Linked DNA regions of Homo sapiens: regions 1 and 2 are each linked to region 3. The links are contacts of gene promoters, found by promoter capture Hi-C in blood cells and fetal thymus (Javierre and others, 2016). All regions are on one chromosome and are shown on one strand. Each heading gives the region's core, a stretch centred on a gene start or on the middle of the fragment in contact. The rest is flanking DNA. Distances are from core to core; before and after follow the strand shown.

Region 1 (4,937 bases), core at 2,315-4,814, 700 kb after region 3:
CACATCCATCAGAGGGTGTGTACGAAGCACTCACCCTGGACCCCAAGGCTTGCCTGCGACAGAGCTCGCTCCATCTGCAGAGTCCGTTAAACAGATTTTGCGGCAAATTCAAGTTGATCCACAGCAGTTATAAATCCAGCACTCCAGGCCGGGCACGGTAGCTCACACCTGTAATCCCAGCACTTGGGGAGGCCGAGGTGGGCAGATCACTTGAGGTCAGGAGTTCAAGACCAGCCGGGCCAATATGGCGAAACCCCATCTCTACTAAAAATACAAAAATTAGCCAGGCATGGTGGTACATGCCTATAATCCCAGCTACTTGGGAGGCTGAGGCATGAGAATTGCTTGAACCTGGGAGGCAGAGGTTGCAGTGAGGCTGAGATCACACCACTGCACTCCAGCCTGGGTGACAGAGTGAAACTGTTTCTCAGTAATAATAATAATAATATAAAAAAACAAATTCAGCACTACTCAGTTCAGTCATCAGCCCAGGAGGAGTCCAGGACAACGGAAAGCTAGAACAAAGGGAGCAGTACTGAACCCCTTCCAAGCCCTGGAAAAACTGCACGCACAGACCAGGGCACCAGGTGATACTTGGTACACAGGTAGGTGACTCCTATTTATCAGATGGGAGGCTGACTGCTCTGTGCTCATTGGCTTCCTGGTGGCATCTCTGATTTACTAGCCAGGCTGCGCATGGTGGCTCACACCTTTAATCCCAGCACTTTGGGAGGCCGAGGCGGGTGGATCACCTGAAGTCAGGAGTTCAAGACCAGCCTGGCCAATATGGTGAAACCCCATCTCTACTAAAAATACAAAAATTAGCCAGGTGTGTAATCCCAACTACTCGGGAGGCTGAGGCAGGAGAATTGCTTGAACCCAGGAGACAGAGGTTGCAGTGAGCAGAGATCGCATCAGTGCACTCCAGCCTGGGTGACAGAGTGAGACTGTCTCAAAAAAAACAAAAACAAAAAAAAAAGCCAGGCATGGTGGCAGGCACGTGTAGTCCCAGCTACTCGGGAGGCTGAGGTGGGAGGATTGCTTGAACCTGGGAGGCAGAGGTTGCAGTGAGCCAAGATCATGCCACTGCACTCCAGCCTGGGTGACAGAGCGAGACCCTGTCTCAAATTAAAAATAAATAAATAAATAAACAAAAGCAAATCAGGCCCAGTTTGAAGGTAGAGATGGGGTCATTTATATGGATGCAACTACTGGCCATTGATTGTATGCCAAGCACTGTGCTTGCTTTCCATATTTTTTTCTAGGTTTTTGTTTTTGTTTTTGTTTTTTGGTCTGTCGCCTGGCATGGAGTGCAGTGACACCAGTGCGACTCACTGCAGCCTTGACCTCCCGAACTCAATTGATCCTCCCACCTCAGCCTCCCATAGCTGGGACTACAGGCTCACACTACTATGCTCAGCTAATTTTTTAAATTAATTATTGTTTTTTTAAATTAATTATTATTTGTAGGGATGGGGGTCTCTCTATGTTGCACCTGGCCAAGACATCATTCTAACTGAACTACGCAAGTCACAAAAGGACAAATACTGTATGATTCTGTTCAAGTGAGATGCCTAGAATAGTCAGATTTATAGAGCCAAAAAGTAGCATGGTGGTTGTCAGGGGTTGGGGATAGGAGAAATAGGGAGTTATGGTTTAATAGGTACAGAGTTTCAGTTTGGAAAGATGAAAAAAACCCTATAGATGAATAGTGGTGATGGTTGCACAACAATGAGAACGTGTTTAATGATACTGAATTAATAAGATAAAAATGGTTAAAATGAGGCCAGGCATGGTGGCTTAGACCTGTAATCTCAGCACTTTGGGAGGTCAATGCAGGAGGATCACTTGAGTCTAGAGGTTCAAGACCAGCCTGGGCAACATGGCCAAACCCTGTCTCTACAAAAAATACAAAAATTAGCAAGGTGTGGTTGCACACATCTGTAGTCTCAGCTACTCGGGAGGCTGAGGTGGGAGGATGACCTGAGCCTGGGGAGGTCGAGGCTGCAGGACAACAAACCAAGACCCTGTCTCAATAATAAATTTTATGTTATGTATATTTTACCATAATTCTTTTTTTATTTTTAGTCTTGCTCTGTCATCCAGGCTGGAGTGCAGTGACATGATCTCGGCTCACTGCAAACTCCACCTCTCAGGTTCAAGCGATTCTCCTACTTCAGACTCCTGAGTAGCTGGGATTATAGTCATGCACAACCACGCCTGGCTAACTTTTGTATTTTTAGTAGAGATGGGGTTTCACCATGTTGGCCAGACTGGTCAGACTGGTCTTGAACTCCCGACCTCAAGTGATCCTCCTGCCTCGGCCTCCCAAAGTGCTGGGATTACAGATGTGAGCCACTGCGCCCAGCACCCCTCCTTTTTATTTTGAGACAGAGTCTCGCTGTGTCTCCCAGGCTGAAGTGCAGTGGCAGGAACACAGGTCACTGCAGCCTCAACCTCCTGGGCTCAAGCAATCCTCCTACCTCAGTCTCCCATATAGCTGGGAGTACAGGTATGCACCACCACACCCAGTTAATTTTTTGATTTTTTTTTTTTTTTTTTTTTTGTAGAGACTTGGTCTCACTTTGTTGCCCAGGCTGGTCTCAAACTCCTGGGCTCAATTGATCTTCCTGCCTCAGCCTCCCAAAGTGCTGAGATTACAGGCCTGAGCCACTGCACCTGGCCCACAATATGTATTTTTTAAAGTTTAAAATAAGTAACTTCGTCTTAGATAGCACCTGCTGAAAAGTTTCTGGCCAACACAGCTTTTCCTGGCTCCAAAGCTCCTATCTGTTCTTTGTCACCACAATACCTCACTCCTTAAAGGCAACGTCTGTCCTAGGCCCCACTCATAGAAGCAGAGGGTGGACAGGGCTGTACCCGTCGTTTCCTCTTCTTCACCCGAGCATCCCCAGCCTCTTGCTCATAGTCCATTGCTGTAGGTGTTTTGACAATGGGGCCAGCCTCAAATGGCAACTCGACTCCATATAAAATATAATTATGTTTTTTAAATTTTAGGTCAAGCTTTGAATCATTGCAAAATAATCAAGAAAAGGCAGTGGTGGCACAAAATGATGATATAGTTATGAAATTGTCATCTGAAATCTGTCTAGAATGTATTGAAATCCATATTAATTTGGAAAGACGTGGAGAGAGGATGAGGTTTTGACATGTCATCTGGAGTTGAGGAATCACTTTGGAAGGAGCTGTTGAGGGCTACAAAATATTGAACTAGCATAAATATTTGCTTTGAATGATCTTTCATCTTCCTAAAGACGTCAGGAAGTTTCTCAAGGGAAGTTAAGGTGGTTTGCTATAGGCTAGCAACCCGACCTCGATCCATGCCATAATTCACATGGCTTCTCCTTCTGCTCAGGGAGGTGTAGATGCCACAGATGATTCTGGAGTAATCTCTGTATGTTTAGATCCTATTGGGGTGAGTTGGGGAGTCAGTCTGAAGTGAGATCCAATAATATGTCAACCAATAACAAGAGAGGATTCTGGAAAGGAGGTCTGGAATGTGTTTAAAAATAAAAGTTAAGCCTACATCCATACAGAGAAACAAGAAGATAGATGCTTGGGTGAGATAACTAACCATCTAGCCTGGGCACAGTGGCTCACACCTGTAATCCCAGCACTTTGGGAGGCCGAGGCTGGTGGATCACTTGAGCCCGGAGGGTCAAGACCAGCCTGGGCCACATGGCAAACCCTGTCTCTATAAAAAGTACAAAAATTAGCCGGGTGTGGTGGTGCATGCCTGTAGTCCCAGCTACTCAGGAGGCTGAGGTGGGAGGATGGCTTGAGTCCAGGAGGTTGAGGCTGCAGTGAGCCATGATGACACCACTGCACTCCAGCCTGGGTGACAGAGCAAGACCTTGTCAAAACAAAACAAAACGACAATATCAAAAAACAATCTAGAGGTGATGGTCAAAGGGTATGAAGTTTTAATTATGCAAGATAAATAAATTCTGGAGATCTCTATACACATAGTGCATATAGCTAACAATTCTGTATTGTATACTTAAAATTCTCTGAGAGGGTAGGTCTCATATTAAATACTCTTACCACACATACACACAAATAATAATTATAATAGGAGTGGAAGGAAGCTTTGGGAGGTGACAAATATGTTTATGGCCTTGATGGTGATGGTTTCATGGGTGTATACTTATCCCCAAGCTCATTGGCTTGTATATGTTAAATATGCACCGCTTTTTACGTGTCAGTCATACAACAATAAAGTGGTTTAAACATTTTGTTTTTAAAGAGAACAATTTGGAATTAGACATGGAATATGAAAACAAATGCATGAATACAAATTTGCAGGCCATTAATGAGAATTGAGTAAACTAGCTCTCTGAGTGGAAACAGCTGAAATTCTCCTAGTAAGCATGTTATCCACACCCAGTAATGTTGTATGTTACGTTTTACTCTCTTGTGTGGTGTTATATTTTACAATAAAGAGAAGAAAAAGTGCACTGTCTGAGCATAAGGTGGGGGGAGGACGTGTCTATCATTGCTTCATGTCGTCGTCCCTGCTGTGTGTGATCTTCACCATGTTGCAGTTCATTTGGGAGCTGAAGACAAAGGCTAGTTGCTGTTTTAATGTTCTGCCGTCTCTGAAGTTGCAGGATGGTTATGTTAATGCTGTGGTTTGAAAATGGAAGCCTGAGATGGCAGCAAAATTCCTGGCTCCCACCCGCCCTTCTGGGGATGCACAGGAAGAATATCCCACAAGGATCTCCATCCTGCACATTCCAGGGCAGATCTGGGCAATATCAAACAAGAGAACCAGCCGAGCTCACACTTGTCTGGACCCAGTGAAAGCTCTTGCCCGACTTTATAGCAAACAAGAGTGCTTAGAATAATTGCTCCTAATTTTGTTTGTTTATTTATAAGTAGAAAGGCATGAGTCTTTCTATCCTGGGTAAAAGCCA
Region 2 (4,552 bases), core at 716-3,215, 760 kb after region 3:
AGAGATTGATAAGTGCTCCAAGGAGGAGAGAGACCTGGTAAGATCTGCCTTTTGGGAAGCTCATTCCAGGGGGTAGGGTGGAGGAAGATGGGGGTGGGGCAGGCGTGGAGCCAGGCTGGAGGAGGCTGTTCTGTGCTGCAGGTGCCAGAGGGAGGCTTGAGCCCAGAAGAGGCGGTGGGTGGAGGGCCTGAGCCTAATGGGATCTCAGGGATCTGCCAGTATACGTCTCACATCTTGGTGGAGAGGAGGGTTCAAAACTTGCAGGTCTCTTGTGTTTTGGCTTCACAGACAGAGTGAATTGGCTCCTCTCTGCTAAGGAGTCAAGGACACACATGCTGGTGCCACACAGAGGAGGAAACCTATAAGCCAGGAAGTAGGAGCACACACCCAGTGCTGTCCCACAACTCGGATCAGAGGATCAGACGGCAGCAGCTCCCTGCCAGGGATTAAGAGCCCACCCCTGCCCCCTGCTGCCTGCTCCCTTGCACTCTACATATTTGTAGGGATGGGGTCAGGGGACATCCCTGTGATTATGGAAGCTCCCTGGTTGGGAGAAATAACCTTGGTTCAAAAGGGGAGCACCTGGTCCCCAGAGACTGTAACCAGCCCGGCCTCCTGGGGACCTGGGCAGATCTGCTGAGCCTGATCTCCGCTAAGTTCAAGAGAGGGGAGATGAGGCTCTGCAACCACCATCAGATGCCCCAGCCAATTCTCGGAGACAGAGAGAGCCAGGAGTTTTGCCAGCCCACCTCAGCTGTGCTGACTGAGCACTGGCCACCAGTGGGCTTCTCTGCTGCTCCCCAAGGGAGGGAAGTGGCCAGCAGGGTTTGAAAGAGTTTCAGTGCTGTTTGCCCCAATGGCCTCTGGGCCCCTGGTGAGGGTGACTGGCTTGGAGCTCCAGGAAGGTGGCAAGGGCTCCATTCCCACCTCATCCTCCAGCTGCCTTTCTCTGGGTGGCGTCTCAGTGAAGCCAGCCTGGGGTCTATCCTCATGTGCTCTCATGATCCCAAGCCCACCTGCATGGGTCGAGGGTCCCTGCATCTCTCTCTCTCTCTCTGTCTCTCTCTGTCCCTCTCTCTCCCTCTTTCCCTCTCTCTCTCTCTCTCCCTCACCCTCTCTCCCTGTCGGGACTTGAGCACCATGGCTCTGCTGTGATGAGCACCATGGCTCTGCTGTGATGTGACTTATGATTGATGCTGCCCCTGAGCGTGCTGGGTGGTCTTCTATGCTTGTCACAAATCTCTGCCATCTAATTCCACCCCCATCGCCCAGATTGCTTCCTTCCGTGTGCCACTCCCCTTCTGGGCACTTGTGGTGATAGGACATATGAGGGGAGGAGCTGGTTTGGGAGGCGCAAAGGCATGATAAACTCGATTTTGAATGTGTCAAATATGACTTACAGGCAGGTTGACAGGATAGAGATGGATTGTCGGCATTTGGTTAGACGTGTGTGGAGCTCAAGAGGGGAGCCTGAGCTGGTGTCTTAGTCTGTTCAGGCTGCTATAACAAAATGCCTTAGATCGGGTAACTCATAGACAACAGAAATGTATTTCCCACGGTTCTGGAGGGTGGGAAGTAAGTCCAAGGTCAAGGTGCTGATGGATTTGGTGTCCGGTGAGGGCTGCTTTCTGATTCACAGGTGAGTCTTCTCTCTGTGTCCTCACGTGGTGGCAGAAGTGAGGCAGCTCTCCGGAGCCTTCTGTATAAGGGCACTAATCCCATTAATGGGGGCTCCACCCTCAAGATCTAATCACCTCCCGAAGGCCCCACCTCCCAACGCCATCACCTTGGGCATTTGGATTTCAACGTGTGAATTTTGGAGGGACACAGATATTCAGACCATAGCAGCTGTGGGTGAAGATTCAAAGACTCAGAAACAGATGGGACCTCCCAGGCAGTGTGTGAAGGGCAAGGCTGGAACCCTGAACACCAGTGACAAGTAGGAGATGGAGAGAGAAAGGAGGATGCTACCATGTGGATGAAAAGGGGCTTTAACACATATTGCTCAGGTGGCCTCACTATGAAATAACAGGACAGATGAAGTCACTGAGTCTCGGGGGCACCTTCACAATCTCTCACAGCTGTTAGTGGCAGAGCCAGGTCTCCAAGTTCAGAATTTTTCTCCCTACATTTGTTCACTTATTCATTCAACAGTCACTGATTGTGCTCTTTTCTGTGTGTGTACAGGGTCTTGTGTTCATACCATGAGCAGCATAGCAGGGACCCAAGCAAGACTGGGAGGAGAGGCGGGATGCAGACAAGTTGGGAACCAGCCACGCCTCTCCTCCTAGCAGGGGAGTTGCTCTAATAGGTTTTAATTTTATTCAGCTTTGGTGAGGCCAATAGATCAGATGATGACTCTCACTGAAGAGAGAGTTTCTTACTCTCAGATCTAAGAGAAGTGGGCACGCCACGCCATGCAGGGACACCCGGGGCAGCACGAGGGCTGGTCAAGAGGCAGAGGGAGAAGAGAACGTGGCCAGAGCCCTTATTATGGTTTCCACAGGAAAGAGTGGGCAAGGCAGGGTTAGCTAGCTCAGGACTGGCTAGTTTAAATCATTTCAGCAGGCTCTGGGGCATACAGGCTGTTCCTATTTGTCAGATACCTGGTCCTGGGTGATTAGGGCAGGGGGATAGTGGCCTGGAGTGTGAGAGCCAGATAAGGGAATTGGTTGGGATGCGAGCTCTGGGTTGGTTTTCATTTGAAAAGCATATCACCCGGAGGACTCCTTCCAGGGGGAGGGGGACAGTGAGGGAGACATATTATTGGGTTGCACAGAGCAAGGTGTGTCCTGCAGATGCACGCGGGGCAGATGTTAAAGCATCAGGTTTACAGAAAGGAGAAACATGGTTAATACAGAAGCAGAAAAGGAATGCAAAACAGAGAACAACTGCAAAGGTGCACATGCGGAAACACAGGTTGATGTCCTGCCAACCCTACTGTGGATGGTCTGTGGACCAGCAGCACCTGGGACTTAGAGAGGCAGCGTCTCAACCCCTCACCCCAGACTGAACGAATCTGAATCTGCAACACCCTCAGGTAACCCATATGTATCTTAAGCCATGATAAGTACTGGCATCAGCTGCAGACAGGCCCGTGGACAGATGGAGGAGGAGGAGGAAAACGTGTGGTTCGTTAGGGAGGCTTCTTGGAGGAGTCCTCTAACAATGAAAGCCAGCTTTCATGTGAAAAGAAATGAGATCTTTTGCCTAAAACAGTGGTTCTCAAAATTGGCTGCAAATTGGAATCACCTGTTGTGTTTTAAAAAGCTCTGGAGGCCAGGCACAGTGGCTCATGCCTATAATTCCAGCACTTTGGGAGGCTGAGGCTGGCAGATCACTTGAGTCAGAAGTTCAAGACCAGCCTGGCCAACATGGCAAAACACCATATCAACTAAAATAGAAAAAAAAAATAGCTGGACATGGTGGTGCATGCCTGTAGTCCCAGCTACTTGGGAGGCTGAGGCATGAGAATCGCTTGAGCCCAGGGAGCTGAGGTTGCAGTGAGCCAAGATCGCACCACTGCACTCCAGCCTGGACAACAGAGTGAGACTCTGTCTCAAAAATAAATAAGCAAGTAAATAAATAAATATAAAAAGCACTGATCCCTGCTTCCAAACACTGGAGATTCAGATTTAATTGAGATAAGGCCAGGATGTAGAGCGTTTACAGAACTCCCCAGGTGATTTAAACATACAGCCATGTTAGAGAACCACTGGCCTTTGCCATACGGAAGATATAATGTGCTGTACCAGGACCAGAGAACAGAGAAACAGAGGAATCAGATGGTTTGAGAGCAAGACCAGGAGTGTGCAGGTCTGCCCGGTGGGTGGGGTGAACAGGGAGGGTGCGCCTAGGATCCTTCTCCCCTCCCATCCCCATTTGGCTTCCTGGGCCACGTTCCTCAGCGCTTCGTTGGTTCTTACCCGGATGCTTGTATTCTGCTTCCCCCTAGTGGTGACTTGCAGTATGGCACAGCTGTCGCTGGCGGTTTCATTAAGGTTCCGCGTTCATCACTAACTTGTGACAGTGAGTTACAGCCTGTGGTCTCGACAGGTGGGATCATCCTAAGAATCATGTCCTGTGAGCATCTTCGCCATGTGACTTCAGGAGTTGCTCCCTCACAAGGAGCCTCAGGGAGTTATAGGTCACTGGCCAAGCACTGCCCTGGCACAGGGCTGCAACTGCAGCCTAAGTGGCTTCCTGTGCGTAAGGTTTAAGGAACTTTCATTTTATTAGCCAGTGGTTAAGTGCCTGTGAGAGCAATCATCAGCAGGTGCAGTGGTAGAAGATAACAAGCTTCCTAATAAATAGTGGCCACCGGCCGGGTGCAGTGGCTCATGCCTGTAATCCCAGCACTTTGGGAGGCCGAGGCAGGCAGATCACGAGGTCAGGAGTTCAAGAACAGCCTGGTCAACATGGTGAAACCGTATCTCTACTAAAAATATAAAAATTAGCCGGGTGTGGTGGCGGGTGCCTGTAATCCCAACTACTTGGGAGGCTGAGGCAGGGAAAATTGCTTGAACCTGGGAGGCAGAGGTTGCAGTGACCT
Region 3 (4,923 bases), core at 1,369-3,868:
GTTTTATTGCAATTTGCAAATGAATTGCAGGTGATCTAAAAAATAAGCCAATTGAGGAGGGAAATCCAAAACACATTAAACCAGCTCAACTTGGGAGAGAAATGCTAGCTGAAAATGAGAGACATCTGTTGAAACAATTCTGTGCTTTTTTTCTTCAGTTTTGCTAAATAATAAATATATAATTACCAGACAAAAAAGTCTGATTTAATCTTCGATAAAATTGCGATTCTGAAATAGTTTCGCAATTTTTAAAAGTTAACTTTGATATTCGCTCAAAATGTTTTTGAGTCTAAAGTCGACTCAAACTTAGGGCAACGAAAATAACACATTTTCCAAGCCTCAATGTTTTCACTGACATATACACATTTACAATCTTAAGGTGAACTCAGCCATAAGGGAAAATAGGAGCAGTGCCTTTTTCCTTTTTTGTAAACTGTGTCAGAAATCCAAGCGAGTGGACTCAGGGAGACTTCTAGTAGTTTGTTGTTGTTGTTTGTTTAGGAAGAAAATCCAATTGACAACTTTCATCTCACAAATATTTCTTGTTTGCGTTTCTTGCCCTTGAGAAAGAGCTCTTGCTCTGATTTGCAAATGGCGTGATAAACAAAAGAAACCGTGATCATCTCACACAAAAGGCCAGATTCGAGCCGGTCACTGGTCAAGAATGGATCTGGTTGGGAGTTCTGCTTGAGAGAACAGAGATCTGCAAAGTTCAAATAGTACAAACAGGGAGGCGAGGCTGCTCAGAGCCATCCCACTCCCAGAAACGAATGACACAAGCAGCTTTTCCCGTGTGCCAGCCATTTCAGACCTCACATTTGAACAGCGTGCATGCAACACGGACCGGGAGGGGGTTGGGGGTTGGGGGGCTGAGGGGCGAGGAAGAAGAATGAGAAACAAAAACAAAACCGACCATGAAACTTCCAACAAAACTGGAAAGGCCAACATGTCAAAAAGTTACTCCTCCACCTCCGTGGGTCAAAACGCAACAGGTTCCGAAGTGCAAAGCAAACGCCAACTGCTGCCGCACACAACCGCCTGCTTTCGAGTTGGCTGCCGAAGTGCGGGTCTGAAATGATCCTGCGAATTCACAGGCCTGCTCGCCCGCGCCCTTGCGCGCTTGGCCACTCCTGCCCCGCCTGGCCTCTCTGCCTCTACCTGGCACCTATACATTCTATGTACATACAAACCGGGCCCCCGGTCGCGGGAGGGCGCACGGGGAGGCCGCAGCGCTCGTACCTATACATATGTACACGTGTGCACACCGGTCCTCGCGAGGCGGCCCCGCGGGGTCATAGCGCGGCAGCGTAGGCCGCGGGGTAGGGGTCCAGCTGGGGCTTGCCCATGCCCGGCAGCAGGATGTAGGCGAGCGGCGGCTGCAGCCCGGGGCTGGGCCACGCGCTGCAGTTGCACGGGATCATGTAGCCCGGGTTGCCCGGGCTGGGGTGCGAGTGCGTGTGCCCCCCGGCGGCGGCGGCCGCCGCTGCAGCCGCCGCCGCCGCGCCGTGGAAGGCGCCCGCGCCCGCGGTCGGGTAGCCCAGCGACGACGCGTACGGGAGGCCGGACGAGGACGACGAGATCTCTGCCATTTTGGAGCCCAGGTCGAGCAGCGAGTAGGGGCTGCCCGCGGCGGCGGCGGCGGCGGCAGCGGCGGCGGCAGCGGCCGACTGCGGGAAGAAGACGCGTGCGGCGGCAGCGGCGGCGGCCGCGGCCGCCTTCTCGGGATTGGCGAGCAGCGACTCAGGCACCAGGCCGCCGCCCGCCCCCGCGTGCAGCCCGGCGCCCGCCTTGAGCGCAGGGTGCTCGGCGTCCGCCACGCCGCCCAGGCCGTAGGGCACCGGGAAGGCGAACTTGTCCTTCTTGAGCAGCGTCTTGGGCTTGCGCCGCGGCCGGTACTTGTAGTCGGGGTGCTCCTTCATGTGCATGGCGCGTAGACGCTTGGCCTCGTCGATGAACGGCCGCTTCTCCGACTCTGTGAGCAGTTTCCACTCGGCGCCCAAGCGCTTGCTGATCTCCGAGTTGTGCATCTTGGGGTTCTCCTGGGCCATCTTGCGCCGCTGAGCCCGCGACCACACCATGAAGGCGTTCATGGGCCGCTTGACGTGGTCCACCGGCTTGGACATGCTCTCGCCCTGCCGCGGCTGCAGCCCGCCGCCTCCCGGGCCCTCGCCCTCGGCCCGGAGGAAATCAATGTTGGCTGCCCGCGGAGACCCGCTCGGCCGGCCGGGGCTCGTCGCGCCCCGGCGTCGCTCCCGCCCCGGAGGAGGGGGCTGGGGGACCAGCCCAGGGCCACGCCGCGCCCCGGGCCGCCTTAGTGTCTCCGGCCGAGCGCTCGAGCAGGTTGTCTCTGGGACACTCTAACTTCTCGGCGGTGCCCCCTCCCCGCGGCGGCAGTTTGCCCTTTACGTTCTTTGGGTCCTTCGTCTGCAGTGGCGTTTGCTGGTGAGCTCCCCGCAGGTAGCGGCGGCCGGGCAGAGCGCTCCTCCTCCTCGGTCGTTCTCTCTTAAATGCAAAGCGTCCCCAAAAGTTGCGTCGCGGAGACTCCTCGAAGTTGAGCCGAGGAGCCCGCCGCCGCGTGCTGCCAAGTGCCAAAGGGGGCTCTCAGCGGCTGGAGTGTTTGGGTTCTCCTCGGTGACTTTCTCATTTGACAGAAGCAGATGGGGGTGGGGAAGGCGGGGAGGTGGCCCTGGAGGAGGAAGAGGAGGGGGAGGCGGAGGAGTGTCCAGGCGTGCCACGAGAACGCAGAGCGCAGCAATGGATATAAATACAAATACAGCAGCACCAGCCTGTCTTCTTGGCTCCGGGCAGGGTGCGCCGATGGGAAACCCCCAATCGGCTGGGTGATTTTTTTTTTTTGGAGGGGGGAGCTGTCCCCCGCAGCACCTGCCTCTCGAGTCTTCCTCTCCCGCTGCTGGACTGACGGGTGGGGCGAGGAAGGAGGGTGGATGAGGCTTGAGCAAGCGTTGGTCGCCCGGCCTCAGAGGAAGTTCTCCCGGCTCGCCGAGGAGCCGCGTCCGGCCGTCCCCTGGGCCATGCCGGCTCTGTTCGCTCCGAGCCCCTTCAGGCGCGCCTGCCGACTTAGGGCTCCCGGAGCTCGCCGGCCGCGGAGGGCAGCGCAGCCTCCACGCGGCGCCGCAGGCCTGGCACCGGCCGCGTCCCCGCCTCGCTCTTCTCGGCAGCCGCCTGGCACTTGCAACTAACTTCGCCCAAGTTTCCTGCGCCGCGGCGCCCCTCTCGGCGCGCTCCTGGGAGCGTGCGCCCGCGAGTCCGCCGCGCCCGGGGCCCCTCTGTCCTCGCTGCTGTGGCCAGAGCCGAGCCGGCGCAGGGGCGGAGGTGCTGCAGGAGAGTTAAGGAAAACGGGCCATCACCTCAGTTCGCAGGTCCGCGCTGTGGCACCTCCCGCTCTCCCCACTCCCGCGGCGCAGGGGGCCCCTTCCCAGCCCAGGCCGCCCTCTGCACCGGCTCAGGTGAGTGTGGCTACCTGCATGTGTGCGCGCCCGGAGCCGGCACTGGGTGTGCATGTCCAGCCGCGGCTGTGTGTGTATATCTGGGGGCCTGCGGAGGAGGTGGAGCCCAGGACTCGGGGAGGGAGGAGGGATCAGCGGAGCCGCCTCCCGCTCCCACACCCCCAGGACCTCGAATTAACAGATCCCCTCCGCCCCCCGCCCCCTCCCAATCCTCCTCCTCCCACTCCTTTTCACTTGAGAGCAGGTTTAGGCGAGTGGAGAGTCCGGAGCGCGCCGGGGAGTCTGCGCCCTGTTTGGCGTTGGCAAACCCTGGTGTCATCCCGGCTACCCAGGCCGGCCTGGCGTGCAGCTGCCCTGGTTGTGGCCCTGGAATCCTCGCCGGGAGGAAGAAGGCGGCGGGCACGAGTAGGAGAGCCTCTCCAGCTACGGAGGAAGAGGGTTAAACCTGGAGAAGGGGAGACTCACCCTTGAAAATGTTTGAGACTGTTCCTAGCAAGAAAGTGCTCATTTTCCTTGGAGGTCCAGGTGTTGCTTGCAACAGAAACAGAGGCTTCTCGCATTTTCTTGCACTGGCGATGCACCTAGTCAGAGGTAGTGGAGTGAAAAATAACTCTGGAGGGAATAAGGACATTCTTGGCAACCTTTCCAAAAAAGAGCTAGCCCAGACTGAGAGTATGCATCCTTGACTGACTATTCAGCTCTTTAAAAATTCTGTGTTGTTTGTCTTTTGTTGTAATCTTGGTCGCCAGAACCATCTATATACTGATCTCTTTAAGGTACAGTTAACTTACAGTGTCTCACTTACATGCGCTGCTGAGGTGAAGGTGTTTAAAATCAATAAGTGTAAGTAGTTTCCCTGGAAGAGAGAAGTAAAACGTACCAATCACTCAGTGCTGGAATATTTTTATGCTAAGCATAATTTCCTTCTTTAGTAGTTAGAGCAGTTTTTTAAAAAAAATAGTTAACACGATGCAGAAGTCAAACAGCATGATTCTGTTTCCGTATTTTCCTCACTTTTTGGTATGCTGCGGCACATTTAGAACATGATCTGTCTGGAGGTTTTATTCACATGGTGGCCTGCCCTTCAGGGAGAACTTGCTTGCCTTCTTTCTTTGGCAGTTTGGATTTGACCTAGCCCTGTGGTATGTGCAAGTAGGAACATCTACAAACGGTTAACTCTTTAAGTCTTCCTACGATTTATGTTCAGTTCATTCACACACACACACACACACACACACACACACACACAAAAGCTTTGATTGTAATTATGAACGTGAATTAAAACTGTTTCAGGCCATCAGATTTATGTAAAAGTTAGGCTTGTTTTGTTCATTTTAATAAAAGAATAGTGACTTAAAAATTACAGTCGTGATAACAAAACTGTGAACAGCAGTGGCATCTATGTGGGTTTTTGTTTTTCTGAAGATGTCGTATTGACAAGCTTATTTTGTATCGG

The links. Contacts are between HindIII fragments. The CHiCAGO score rates a contact against its expected background, and 5 or more counts as called.
Region 1: a contact is called between a fragment that was not itself captured here and the fragment with the promoter of SOX21 in region 3, in 3 of 17 cell types (erythroblasts, endothelial precursors and total CD8 T cells). The highest score is 6.4, in erythroblasts.
Region 2: a fragment that was not itself captured here is called in contact with the fragment with the promoter of SOX21 in region 3 in 1 of 17 cell types (erythroblasts); the score reaches 7.2 in erythroblasts.

The regions. Positions count from the first base shown.
Region 1 is chr13:95,406,985-95,411,921 of GRCh38, forward strand. No RefSeq gene overlaps it. Among named protein-coding and RNA genes, the nearest start is that of ABCC4, 110 kb to the left of the region's middle. The HindIII fragment of the contact is 1,085 bases long and covers 3,023-4,107 here.
Region 2 is chr13:95,474,747-95,479,298 of GRCh38, forward strand. It overlaps a transcript of CLDN10 not described here. Among named protein-coding and RNA genes, the nearest start is that of CLDN10-AS1, 57 kb to the right of the region's middle. RefSeq lists an enhancer at 3,862-4,221. The HindIII fragment of the contact is 4,663 bases long and covers 1-4,297 here.
Region 3 is chr13:94,709,927-94,714,849 of GRCh38, forward strand. It overlaps SOX21 (SRY-box transcription factor 21), which reads right to left and starts at 2,619. Exons shown (of 1, transcript NM_007084.4): 1 at 1-2,619. The coding sequence starts at 2,123. The coding sequence ends at 1,293. It overlaps SOX21-AS1 (SOX21 antisense RNA 1), which reads left to right and starts at 2,790. Exons shown (of 2, transcript NR_046514.1): 1 at 2,790-3,467; 2 at 3,712-4,923. LOC112268114 (a long non-coding RNA gene) reads right to left here and starts at 3,517. Exons shown (of 2, transcript NR_158368.1): 1 at 3,482-3,517; 2 at 2,794-3,336. RefSeq lists an enhancer at 3,343-3,844. The HindIII fragment of the contact is 9,809 bases long and covers 1-4,718 here.